2 separate regions of the Homo sapiens genome follow, and region 2 is linked to region 1. The links are contacts of gene promoters, found by promoter capture Hi-C in human tissues and cell types (Jung and others, 2019). All regions are on one chromosome and are shown on one strand. The core of a region is centred on a gene start or on the middle of the fragment in contact, and the rest is flanking DNA. Distances in the headings are between cores, read along the strand shown.

What was found. Contacts are between HindIII fragments. The study calls those that stand out against the background at their distance.
Region 2: a contact is called between a fragment that was not itself captured here and the fragment with the promoter of CYP3A43 in region 1, in 2 of the 25 tissues and cell types used here (H1 embryonic stem cells and bladder).

The regions. Positions count from the first base shown.
Region 1 is chr7:99,825,217-99,830,872 of GRCh38, reverse strand. It overlaps CYP3A43 (cytochrome P450 family 3 subfamily A member 43), which reads right to left and starts at 2,860. Exons shown (of 13, transcript NM_057095.3): 1 at 2,687-2,860. The coding sequence starts at 2,757. The HindIII fragment of the contact is 7,263 bases long and covers 968-5,656 here.
Region 2 is chr7:99,721,322-99,726,977 of GRCh38, reverse strand. CYP3A7-CYP3A51P (CYP3A7-CYP3A51P readthrough) reads left to right here. Exons shown (of 15, transcript NM_001256497.3): 3 at 4,630-4,682. CYP3A7 (cytochrome P450 family 3 subfamily A member 7) reads left to right here. Exons shown (of 13, transcript NM_000765.5): 3 at 4,630-4,682. It also overlaps a transcript of ZSCAN25 not described here. Among named protein-coding and RNA genes, the nearest start is that of CYP3A7, 11 kb to the left of the region's middle. The HindIII fragment of the contact is 4,256 bases long and covers 694-4,949 here.

The DNA of each region.
Region 1 (5,656 bases), core at 1,611-4,110:
CTATGGAGGTTTGATATTTGAGTCTGAGAAATGAACTAACAGTAGATCAATTAATAGGAGATAATCCTTATAAATTTATCTCATGAATATGCATGGGAGCCTTGAAAGATATGATACTCAAAGAATGGCCTGATGATTGAAGCTTAAATAGCATTCTGAGCTATAAAAATGTAGTATCTTCTGATGGGGAGTGGGTGACACAAGACATGAGAGAGTGAGGGAAGAAAAAGCATGATAAACAAAAGTCATCTTATTATAATGTCTGTCAGGCATCAGTGCTCCAAAGAACAAGTATTATCAACCTTAGTCTCCCTTTCTGTGAGCTAATATTATTTTTTTCTTTTTTTTTTCTTTTAGACTAAGTTTTGCTCTTGTTGTTCAGGCTAGAGTGCAATGGCGCAATCTTGGCTCACTGCAACCTCTGCCTCCAGGGTTCAGGCGATTCTCCTGCCTCAGCCTCCCGAGTAGCTGGGATTGCAGGCACCTGCCACCACACCCAGCTAATTTTTGTATATTTAGTAGAGACAGGGTTTCATCATGTTGACCAGGCTGGTCTTGAACTTCTGACCTCACGTGATCCACCCACCTCGGCTTTCCAAAGTGCTGGAATTACAGGTATGAGCCACCATGCCTGGCCCTGCTAAGATTCTTTTTCATGAGATTATAGGGAGGGGGCTCAAGACCATTGCTTTTTTTTAGGAGGATCTTCCTTTAGGTATGAGAACTTCAGAGAAAGCCCCTTCCTATATTTTGGGAGAAATAGCAGGGTTGGGAGACAGGAGAACATAAGAGTTAGCTTGGTTCTGAAGACTTTCTGAGACCTTTCAATTTCCTTTGGTTCAAAGTCCTCAACATGCTTAAGTGCCATATTTTGGGGTTTCATTTTTGGAGCCCCAACTTTCCCCTGTCATAAACTTCCCTAGAAAATGTACATACTAAAGCTGAGTTGATGCTTGTGGAGAGGACAATTGAATTGGTAGCTGAGTCGCAAGGAATCACATTAAACCAGTATAAACCAGTCTCACATTCCTAGCAATGTCAATCCAGTTAAACAGCTGTGCCTCATTTCAGGAGGTGATGTTGCAGGTCTGCTGTCATGAAAGATAGGTCTGTATATGGTGCAGTTAAACAGGTACTTAATAAGAGGTCATTCTACCAAAGCAAAAGGAGACCAAAAGTTAATCATTTAGCAGACTAGTTTCTGAGTTCACAGGGCAGCCAGACAAAAAGATTTCTACATGTTGGTTTTGAAACAGCTCCAGTTGGAGTAGAGGTAGGCAATGGTGATCTGACAGATTTTTTTTCTCTCCTATAGCTCCTTAGGGCCAGATCTGAAAGACTTTAAGTTGTTGCAATTTCTCTGGAGTCTGCTCTATCACAAAGAATTCTGCAAAAATCACATTTCCTGCCTTTGTGGACCAAACCAATGTATTTCTTAAATGTATTTGATATCTCATGCCTCCCTAAAAGAATAAAACCAAGCTGCACCCTGACCACCTTGGGTACATGTTCTTAAGACCTCCTGAAGGCTGTGTCATGGGCCATGGTCACTCATATTTGGCCCAGAATAAATCTCTTCAAGTATTGTACAGAGTTTGGCTCTTTTTGTTGGCAGCATGTATTAACTCATTCTCTATTACAATTCCCCTGTCTTGATGAATGGGCTCTGTTGAGGCAGGGGGCAAGGTGAATCTCTTGGGTGGTTACAGTGAAAATCCATACAAAATTTTACATGCATATGTGCTGGAGGCCCACAATATATGAGACTAAAATAAGGACTGAATGAGTAAAGCTTAAATAGCATTGTAAGCTAAAAAGTAGGGAGTGGCTTCTGATAGGGAGTTTCTGACACAAGTTATGGGAAGGTGAAGGGAGAAAACACATGATGAACAAAGGTTATTTTATTGTGGAGATAAAGTCTCTCAGGTAGCAGTGCTCCAAAGAATAAGTATTATCAAACTTTTTCTCTTTTCCTGTGAATTAGTTTTCTGATTGATGAGATTATTTGGAGAGGCTCAAGACAATTGCATTCTTTTTGGAAGATCTTCCCTTAGTCAGATAAGAGAACTTCAGAGCAACCCTGCACTTCAGGAGGGAAAGAATGGGGGATGGGTAGACAGAAGAGGGTCAGAGATTCTGAAGACATTTGTGAAGTCTTTCAGTCTTCTTTAGTTCAAACTACTCAGTATGACAAAGTTTTATTTTTTTTTTTGAGACGGAGTCTTGCTCTGTCACCCAGGCTGGAATGCAGTGGTGCAATCTCCGCTCACTGAAACCTCTGCCTCCTGGGTTCAAGCGATTCTCCTGCCTCAGCCTCCCAAGTAGCTGGGATTACAGGTGTGTGCCACCATGCCTGACTAATTTTTGTATTTTTAGTAGAGAAGGGGTTTCACCATGTTGGTCTGGCTGGTCTTGAACTCCTGACCTTGTGATTGGCCTGCCTCCACCTCCCAAGTGCTGAGATTACAGGTGTGAGCCACCGCACCCAGACTAAATTTTACATTTTCAAATGTTGTATTAGGAGTCCTAACATATTAATAATATTTTATGTGTTCACAGTATTTGGCACTTAGGTAACTTCCCCTCCGTTATCTCTTTTATCTTCAAAACAAATAAGAAAAAGATGGGCCCAATTAGCACTTCAGGTCTTAGAGTTAAGAGCAAACATGCCTGCATAGTTACTCACATATAGAGGAGTACCAGGCTGGTAGCCACAAGAACCCATGTTTCCATGGCAAAGTTTGGAATGAGATCCATCACCAGTTTTCTTTTTCAGCTCTGTCTTCTGAGTTTTTCTTTCAGCTGTGTGCTGCTCTTTGCTGGGCTGTGCATATAGAGCTTTGTTTCTCTGCCCAGAGGTGATTTAGTTAATGTTAACAGCGATATTTATGTGCTGGAGAAGGAGGTGGGTCTACAGCGGCAGCCAGTAGAAAAGCCACTTATGCTACTCCTCATATGGAGGGATTTGGGTACCCTTTTCAAATTGACAATTGGCAAATAATTATGGCTGTCCTTATTTTGGCCTCCTTTGATTTCCTATTCTGTGAACAATCAGTAAACAAATCAGTCACTGCTATTGGTAAGCCCAAAGGTTATAGATTCTCAGGAACCTAAAGAAAAATACTTCTGCAAGAACATCTGCCCAGCAACTGCCTGTCCAACCTCAAACTGATGTCAGTCTTGTTATTGATCTTTATAGCCAAGGATAATCATTCCAAAACAAATATGTAATCCTTCTCATTATTTTTTTAAACTTTGTCTTACTTTACCTACCTGAATAAGCACATAGTTTACCTTGGCACGCATATTCCCATTGCAATGCTTTATTCCCAAATAAAAATAATTCTTTTTAGAAAGCCTATCTCTGTTTGTTATCTAGGTTGCCAAATCATGCCTCCAGGTAAACAGACAAGAAGGACTCCCTGTGCCTCAAAAGCAAAAACAAACCCAAGAGGCCATGGCAGGTTTAGGTGATGGTCATGTTCTCTGTGTTCTTAGTAAGTGTTGCAAAACCTATTTTTCTGTAGCCAAGTCAAATAACATTTTCTGAAAAAATCTGTACCTGGGAATTTTCCAACTGCTCACCAACAGATCATGTGGTAAGAACTAACTGACCACCTAGGAACAGCCAATTAAGAGACATGTGACTTGGGGCTTAAAGGCTGTCTAATCAAGACTCTTTTCTTCACTCCTCTGACTCCTCTATCCTGCTCTGTGGTTTTTGACTTTATAGCTCTCCACCTCCGAGGCTGCATCTCCTCAATCTGCAGACTGTGTTTTATAGAAAATGAAGCTCTCCCTCTGTCCTCCACAGATCCCACAATCTTTACTCATATTTCCTGGTGATGAGGAAGGGATCAAAATTGGCTCTCAAGATCCTCTCCCTTGTCATCTGGACTAATCAATGCATTGGCACCAGCAAGAGTCCTCTAAGCTCAGTTATCTTCCTGGCCTGGCTGTTTTGTGGAAAAATCAGTAAATCCTCTTACATCCAAGATCTCACATTTAGGATGAGGTCTTGAGGTCTTTATTTTTTTCAGGGAACCTGCCCTTCTGGCTCTATGGCTACCCACTTGTGGGGTATGCTTGCACTTGGAGGGGCATGCCCATGTTTCTTGGGGTGCATTCATGCTGCATCAAGCAAGTTCATGCCTCACAGGATACTCCATGCTTCAGTGTTGCAAGGACTATCGCATTTTATTTGCCCTTGAAGGGACCCCTTCCTAAGGTGAGGGCTATGCATAACCTAGGTCCTAAGGCCATGGTCTCTAAGGCCTGCCATCGGGTAATTCGGTGGCTCTGTCTCTGATCAATCACTATCAGGTACTCTGGCAGTTTTTCAAGTTTAAAATTTAAAGGTAAAGGCTCGACAGAAATGGATGTGAGAGATACACCTAAATTGAACTCCGAAGCATGCAATGAGGATAAGAGGAGTCTGGACTTCTCAAAGACAGTAAGAGGCTTTCTTTCAATCTGCATTTTTGAAAGTTTCAAACACAATTGGGACTTTGGCTGTGTTTTACTAGGAGACTAACCTGAAGAGTTAACCCATGTCTCAGAAAATCTGAAAAACTTGAAGACCCTAAAATGGAGAGTCCCATATCTTCCTGCTGCTGCACTTGCATTCTACCTCCACTTTTCCCTTTTTACCATCACTGTCTTTGTCTGGAACATTGCAGGGACCTGGCAACTTGGTACCAGCAGGGGCCATTGAGCCCCTGGCTCCTTCATGATGATTGAAAACTGGGTGGGTCTCTCATGAGTTTTGGACTTCCCACTTGATTGACAGCTGTCAGTTTTGTTCAGCTAGTTGTTCTTACCCCTGGATAAAAGGGGGTGAAAGAAAGTCTCTTTCTTTGAGACTTACTGTTTCTCAAGAAGGGGGAATCACTCTGTATTTCTCCTCCATAAACATATGAATGAATATGTATGCTATTTCTCCCATTAATCTCCTTTGTGGGTGATTTTTTTTGTTGTTAACAAACCTTCAGAGGAGAAAGGACAAACATTTTTCTTGGCCTCAGCAGTTCTGTCCCTATGAGCAGGATACCAAAGCCACTCTGTTCTTTCAGAAGCCTCAGTGAAGGGAGCCCAAGCACTTGTAAGTCAGCAGAAAAGTAAGAATTTCTTTTTTTTTCTTTTTCTTTTTTTGACAGAGTCTCATTTTATTACCCAGGCTGGAATGTAGTGGTGTGATCTTGGCTCACTGCAATCTCCGCCTCCTGGGCTCAAGTGATCCTTCTATCTCAGTCTCCCAAGTAGCTGGGACTACAGGCACATGCCTCCATGTCTGGCTGAGAAAAGTAAGAATTTCTTTCCAGACAAGCTCCTGGCCTTTCTTTCTGGGAGATCCACTTGGGCAGATGTTAAGAATTGCTCTTTGTCTCCTCTGCAAAATCTTAATAAATAGGAGAAAAGGATTTGTGTTACTAGTGCTGGGTGCAGCAACTCTAGGGTACTCTCTAGTACTTTCTCTTATGAATACTCACATCGTTTGATCCCCTTTTCCTCTAGAAATAGTCTTTTCCTTTGTTCCTGTATTTCTGTGCTGTTCTGTCATAAAAGGGGCTACAGGAGTGTAGAACATGGGCCTGAAACCCCTATAAGCCCACTTGTTGGAGCTGGCTCTGCGGACTGAGCAGCTGGTGCTTCTGAA
Region 2 (5,656 bases), core at 1,572-4,071, 100 kb after region 1:
TCCAACCATGCCCAGGAAGGAAAGGAGTTGTTTTGTAGAAGGGGTTGGGGTTTCAGAGATCAGCCAGACATGATCAGCAGGGAGACCCCATGTGTTTTCATGAAGAATTATGCTGAGGTACGTAACGGATGGAGAAGAAATTTGAGCTTTGGAGGGGGATACCCGATATCCTTTGGAGAGTAAATGTTGAAGGAGCAGGAGGGTATCTTGTTGAAAAGACTCAAAGGAGGGACTACAGAGTAGAAGGTCATCAATATATTGAATAATGTGGGAAGCAGAGGGATGGGAAGAAAGTAAATCATGAGAGAGAGCTTGGCTGAAGTAATGAGGGCTGTCCCAGAAGCCTTGTGGCAGTACAGCCCAGGTAAGCTGCTGGGACTGATGGGTGTCAGGGTCAGTTTAGGTAAAAGCAAAGAGAGGCTGGGATGTGTGGTGCAGGGGAATAGTGAAAAAAGCATCTTTAAGATCAAGAATGGAATAGTGAGTTGTGGAGGGAGATATTGAGAACAAAAGAGTGTACGGGTTGGGCACCACAGGGTGGATAGGAAAACAATTTTGTTGATAAGGCGCAGATCCTGAACAAACCTGTAAGACTTGTCTGGTTTTTAGACAGGTAAGATGGGGGAATTATAAGGAGAGTTTGTAGGCTTTAGAAGCCCATGCTGTAGCAGGTGAGTGATAACAGGCTTCAATCTCCTTAAAGCCTCTTGTGGGATGGGATACTGGCGTTAAGCTGGGTAAGGGTGATTAGGCTTTAATGGGATAGTAATGGGCATGTGATCAGTTGCCAGGGAGGGAGTAGAGGTGTCCCATACCTGTGGGTTAAGGTGGGGGGATACAAGAGGAAGACACGAAGGAGGCTTTGGGTTGGGAAGAAGGATGGCAATGAGATGTAGCTGTAGTCCAGGAATAGTCAGAGAAGCAGATAATTTGGTTAAAATATCTCAGCCTAATAAGGGAACTGGCAGGTGGGGATAACTAAAAAGGAGTGCATAAAAGAATGTTGCCCAATTTGGCACCAAAGTTGGGGAGTTTTAAGAGGTTTAGAAACCTGGCCGTCAATACCCACAACAGTTATGGGGGCAAGGGAAGCAGGCCCTTGAAAAGAAGGTAGTGTGGAGTGGGTATCCCCCCTATCGATTACACAGGGGATGGACTTACCCTCTGCTGTAAGAGTTACCTGAAGTTTGGCATCCGTGATTCTCCGGGGGGCTTCCGAGGTGATCGGGTAGCATCAGTCTTCAGCCACTAAGCCAAGGAGATCTGGGAAGGAGTCAGCCAAGAAACATTGGGTTTGAGCTCCAGGAACTTTAGGAGCAGTGGCGATGTGAGTCAGACAGTCCAACCTCTAATTGGAGCCCACACAGACAGGGCACGGCTTAGGAGGAATCCCAGGCTGTGGGCCTTCTGAGGCCCAGTGGCCAGGCTTTTGGCATTTGAAGCAAGGTCCATGAGGAGGTTTTGAAGGAGCCCCTGGGAGCTGTGGCTTGGATGTTCTGAAGGTTTTGTATGCTGGAGACATGGTCTTGGGTTGTCTTACACTGGAGGCAAGTAGCTATAATTCAGAGATGCATTGTCACTTGGCCGCCTCTTCTCTATTATGATACACCTTGAAGGTGAGGCTATTTAAGTCCTGTTGTGGGGTTTGAGGCCTGGAATCCAATTTTTGGAGATTTTTTCTAATGTCAGGAGAGGATTGGGTCATAAAATGCATATTAAGGATAAGGCGGCCTTCTGGCCCCTCTGGGTCCAGGGCTGTGAAGCATCTAATGGTAGGTGCTAAGTGGGCCATGAACTGGGCTGGGTTTTCATCTTTACCTTGGGTAGTTTCCTTTAGCTTGTCATAATTAACAGCCTTGTATGCTGCTTTTTTGAACCCCTTGACTAGGCAGGAGACCATGTAATCTCACCTAGCTATACCTGGGGAGTCCATCTTGTACTGCCAATGGGGATGCTCTTGGGGAACTGCCCTGATGCCTTCTTGAAGGTCTGGCTCATGGCACTGGTGGGTGTCAGTGTGAGATTGGGCTAGGGTATCAACTCTTTCCTGCTCATCTGGGGAGAGGGGGGAGGTCAGGATGACATTTCAGTCACTCCAGGTTAAATCGCAGGACTGAGTTAAATATTGGAATTCCTGTATATATTTAGTGGGGTCTGATGAAAAAGAGCCTAAACGCTGACTGATCTGGGAGAGGTCGATAGAGAAAAAGGCACATGTACCTTGACTATGCCTTCAGCTCCAGCCACCTGACTAAGAGAAAATTGTTGGGCAGGTGGAGGAGGGCTAGTCTCGGAATGAAACTGTAAGGTGGAGTGGGTGTGAGGAGGGGAGGTGATACTTCTATTATAGGGTGGGGGAGCAGAGGATGAGGAAGAATTGGGACCTGGCTTGGCCTGGTGAGGAGCAGCCTGGTGGGGAGGGGAGAGGTCAGATGGGTTCATAGAAAAGGAGGATTCAAAGGACTCAGAGCTTAGGGTGGAGACTGAAGAAAGAGACAGGAGAGAAAGAAGAAAGATTTGGGATGAGTCACACTGGGAGCAGAGACTAGGGAGAGACTGATGTATAAAAGAATGCCTGGATGTCAGGCACCTCAGACCATTTGCCCATTTTTCAACAAAAATCATCCAGGTCTTATAAGATCGAGAAATCAAAAGTGTCATTTTCTGGCTATTTGGAACCATTGTCCAGTTTGTATTGAGGCCAAGCGGTATTGCAGAAGAAAATAAGGCATTTAGGTTTTAGGTCAGGTGTTAGTCAAAGGGGGTTTTAGGTTTTGAAGAACACAGGCTAAGGGAGAAGAAGAGGGAGTGGAGGCTGGAAGGTTGCCCATAGTGAAGGGGGCAAGCCCAGAGAAAAGAGAAGGTAGAGACATGGAGAGAGGGGAGATGGTACTTGCCACCCAGGGAAGGTGGTGCTTGCCACCCAGGGAAGGTGGTACTTGCCACCCAGGGAAGGTGATACTTGTGACCCAGGGGAGGTGGTACTTGTGCCAAGGTGAATGATCAAGGCAGGCATCCCCACAGTGATCAGATACCTCTGAAATGTGGGTGAATAACCAGGCAGGTGTCCTGGCAGTGATTTAGACACCAAGGGAAGACTGTTCCCGAGTCCATGACTGGCACCAGAGTTTTGAGTTCATGGATAAAACGTATCTCCTCCGTCTCTACCAGAAAGGGAAAGAAACTGAAATTAAGGAAGGGAGAGATTGAAGGGTGGAGGGATAGCAAGAGAGGTTGGAGAAGAGAATAAAAAGAGGCCGCTTACCCGATTTAAAATTGGTGAGATGACCTTGGGCTGGCTGGTCTGAGGACCCAAGAGGTGGATCTCCCCATGGAGTGAGGGCGAGGACAGGGGATGGGACTCCCGAAGGAGTCCCCCTGTCCCAGGTCTTTGGCACCAAATGTCATTTGCGTCCATGTGAAGAGACCACCAAACAGTCTTTGTGTGAGCAATAAAGCTTTTTAATCACCTGGGTGCAGGCTGACTGAGTCCGAAAAGGAGTCTGCAAAGGGAGATAGGGGTGGGTCAGTTTTATAGGACTGGGGTAAGCAGTGGAAAGTTGCAGTTAAAGGAAGTTATCTATTGTCAGCAGAGGAGGGGGTCACAAGGTGCATGGTAGGGAGATCATAAGACTCATTGTCCAGAAGAAGAATGTCACGAGGTCGATCAATCGATCAGTTGGGGCAGGGCAGTAACAAGTCATAATGGAACGTTGTAAGGTTGGTCAATCAGTTAAGACAGGAGCTGGCTGTTTCACCTATTTGTAGTTTTTGGTTGCCTCAGGCCATCTGGATGTACCCATGCAGGCTTGGGCTAAGAGGCCTGAAACCCACCACTTTCCCATGTCAAATCTTTAGTAGATGTACCCCCAAGATACACATTCCTCGGACCTTCTTTTCCATAGTTAAAACTTCACCCCTGAAATGTAGAAACAGGAAGGTTTTTTTTTAAGTTTCAGTGCAAACTCGGAGCAAGTGTCATAATTTTCTGTCTCCGATGTGTAGAGGTGACATTTTCTCAGAACTTTCATGTTAAGCTGGAAAACTGGAAAGCGAGTCCACTTTGTCATTCTGTCACTCACTCATTTTCTCACTCAACAAACATGCCTCACACTTATCTAAATCTGCTAGGCTAAAAGAGGTCCCTGGTGTCTGTAACTTTCTAATTCTGCTAGAATTCTAGAGTGAGCTCATGAAATAAATGAAAAGGATGAAGAACAAAGAGAAAAAAGACTGCACGTTCCCTTCTGGCGCTCACTCACATTCCCTCAGCCTCAGTTTCTCCACATGCCCCTAGAGGTGATCATTCAAGGATTTATGAGATTTTAGAGACAACACATGAAAAAGCAAAGAGACATCAGAAAGACAAGGAGTTACTTAGTATTTATACACAAGGATAAGACATTCAGTATCGACAACACTTAAAGAAAATTCAAGAGTGATTTTAAATTTCCCATTTCAAATACCTCCTCTATTTTGTTTCCTTTCTCTTATGACATCTCTAAATAAGCTTCCTCTAACTGCCAGCAAGTCTAATTTCATTGGATTTGACTGTTTTCAACCCCAATTAGAGGCAGGGTTAAGTACACTTAAAATAATAATGAAATATTATTTTGTTTCTCCTCCCAGGGCTATTGGACGTTTGACATGGAATGTTATAAAAAGTATAGAAAAGTCTGGGGGTGAGTATTCTGGAAGATTCCATTGGATAGACTTGTTTCTATGATGAGTTTACCCCACTGCACAGAGGATAGTCTCAGCCCAGAGCCTCTTGCGATGAAGCTCTTGCCAGCCTAACTACAAACAGAGAGGTTTTCTGAAAGAAGAAGATATGTATTTGGGAGAAGAGTATTAGAATGGGAAACTGTGTGCCATTATAAGCTATGTGCAAATTCAGGGAGGTAAAGGAAGACAAAGATGTTCCACAGAAAATATGAGGAGGACTTCATGTGGATTTTGAAATAGTTCTCCTTCACTACAAAGATCAGTAACAAGGGTGATGCCACACCAAGGTTGGACAGGCAGTTGCTGGGCAGGTGTCCTTGCAGAAATATTTTTGTGTAAGGTTGGGTTGGGCTTTCTGCAAGCTGGTGGTTTTGCCAAGTATTTTGTGATAGTTTTGTTATCAGGCACACAAGCATGAGAATCCACTCATCATAGCCTTCTTTGATTTATTTGTCAAGGTTTTTAATCACACACATAGGCACACAGACACACTGACACACACACACACACGTGTCATAATTTTGGTTCTCACAATGTTCACACTCGCTATTGTAAAACAACTTTTTGAGATTTGTCCTACCAAGGATCCCATATGTCACCAGGTGTTGAGGTCTTCGGTCTAAACTAGGCTGAGACCATTGTGGTTACCACTTTTCTCCAAGCTTTGGTGGCCCAGGGACTCCCAGCATCACGTTCTGTCCAGTGTCTGCCTATTCCCCTCTTCTTTTTTTCTTCCCTTGATGCCCTTTTATCACATGCATTGTCTCAGACCCTTCGAATATGTGCTCATAAATGCATGGCATCATCTCCTTCCCACATCGATTCACTTTCAATTAAAAGCCAAAACTCTTTCATTTCAACTTTGGATTTAACATGCTTTTGAAAGAAGGGTTGAGAAATATAGAGAAACAGATTGGGAAACCATGCTCTG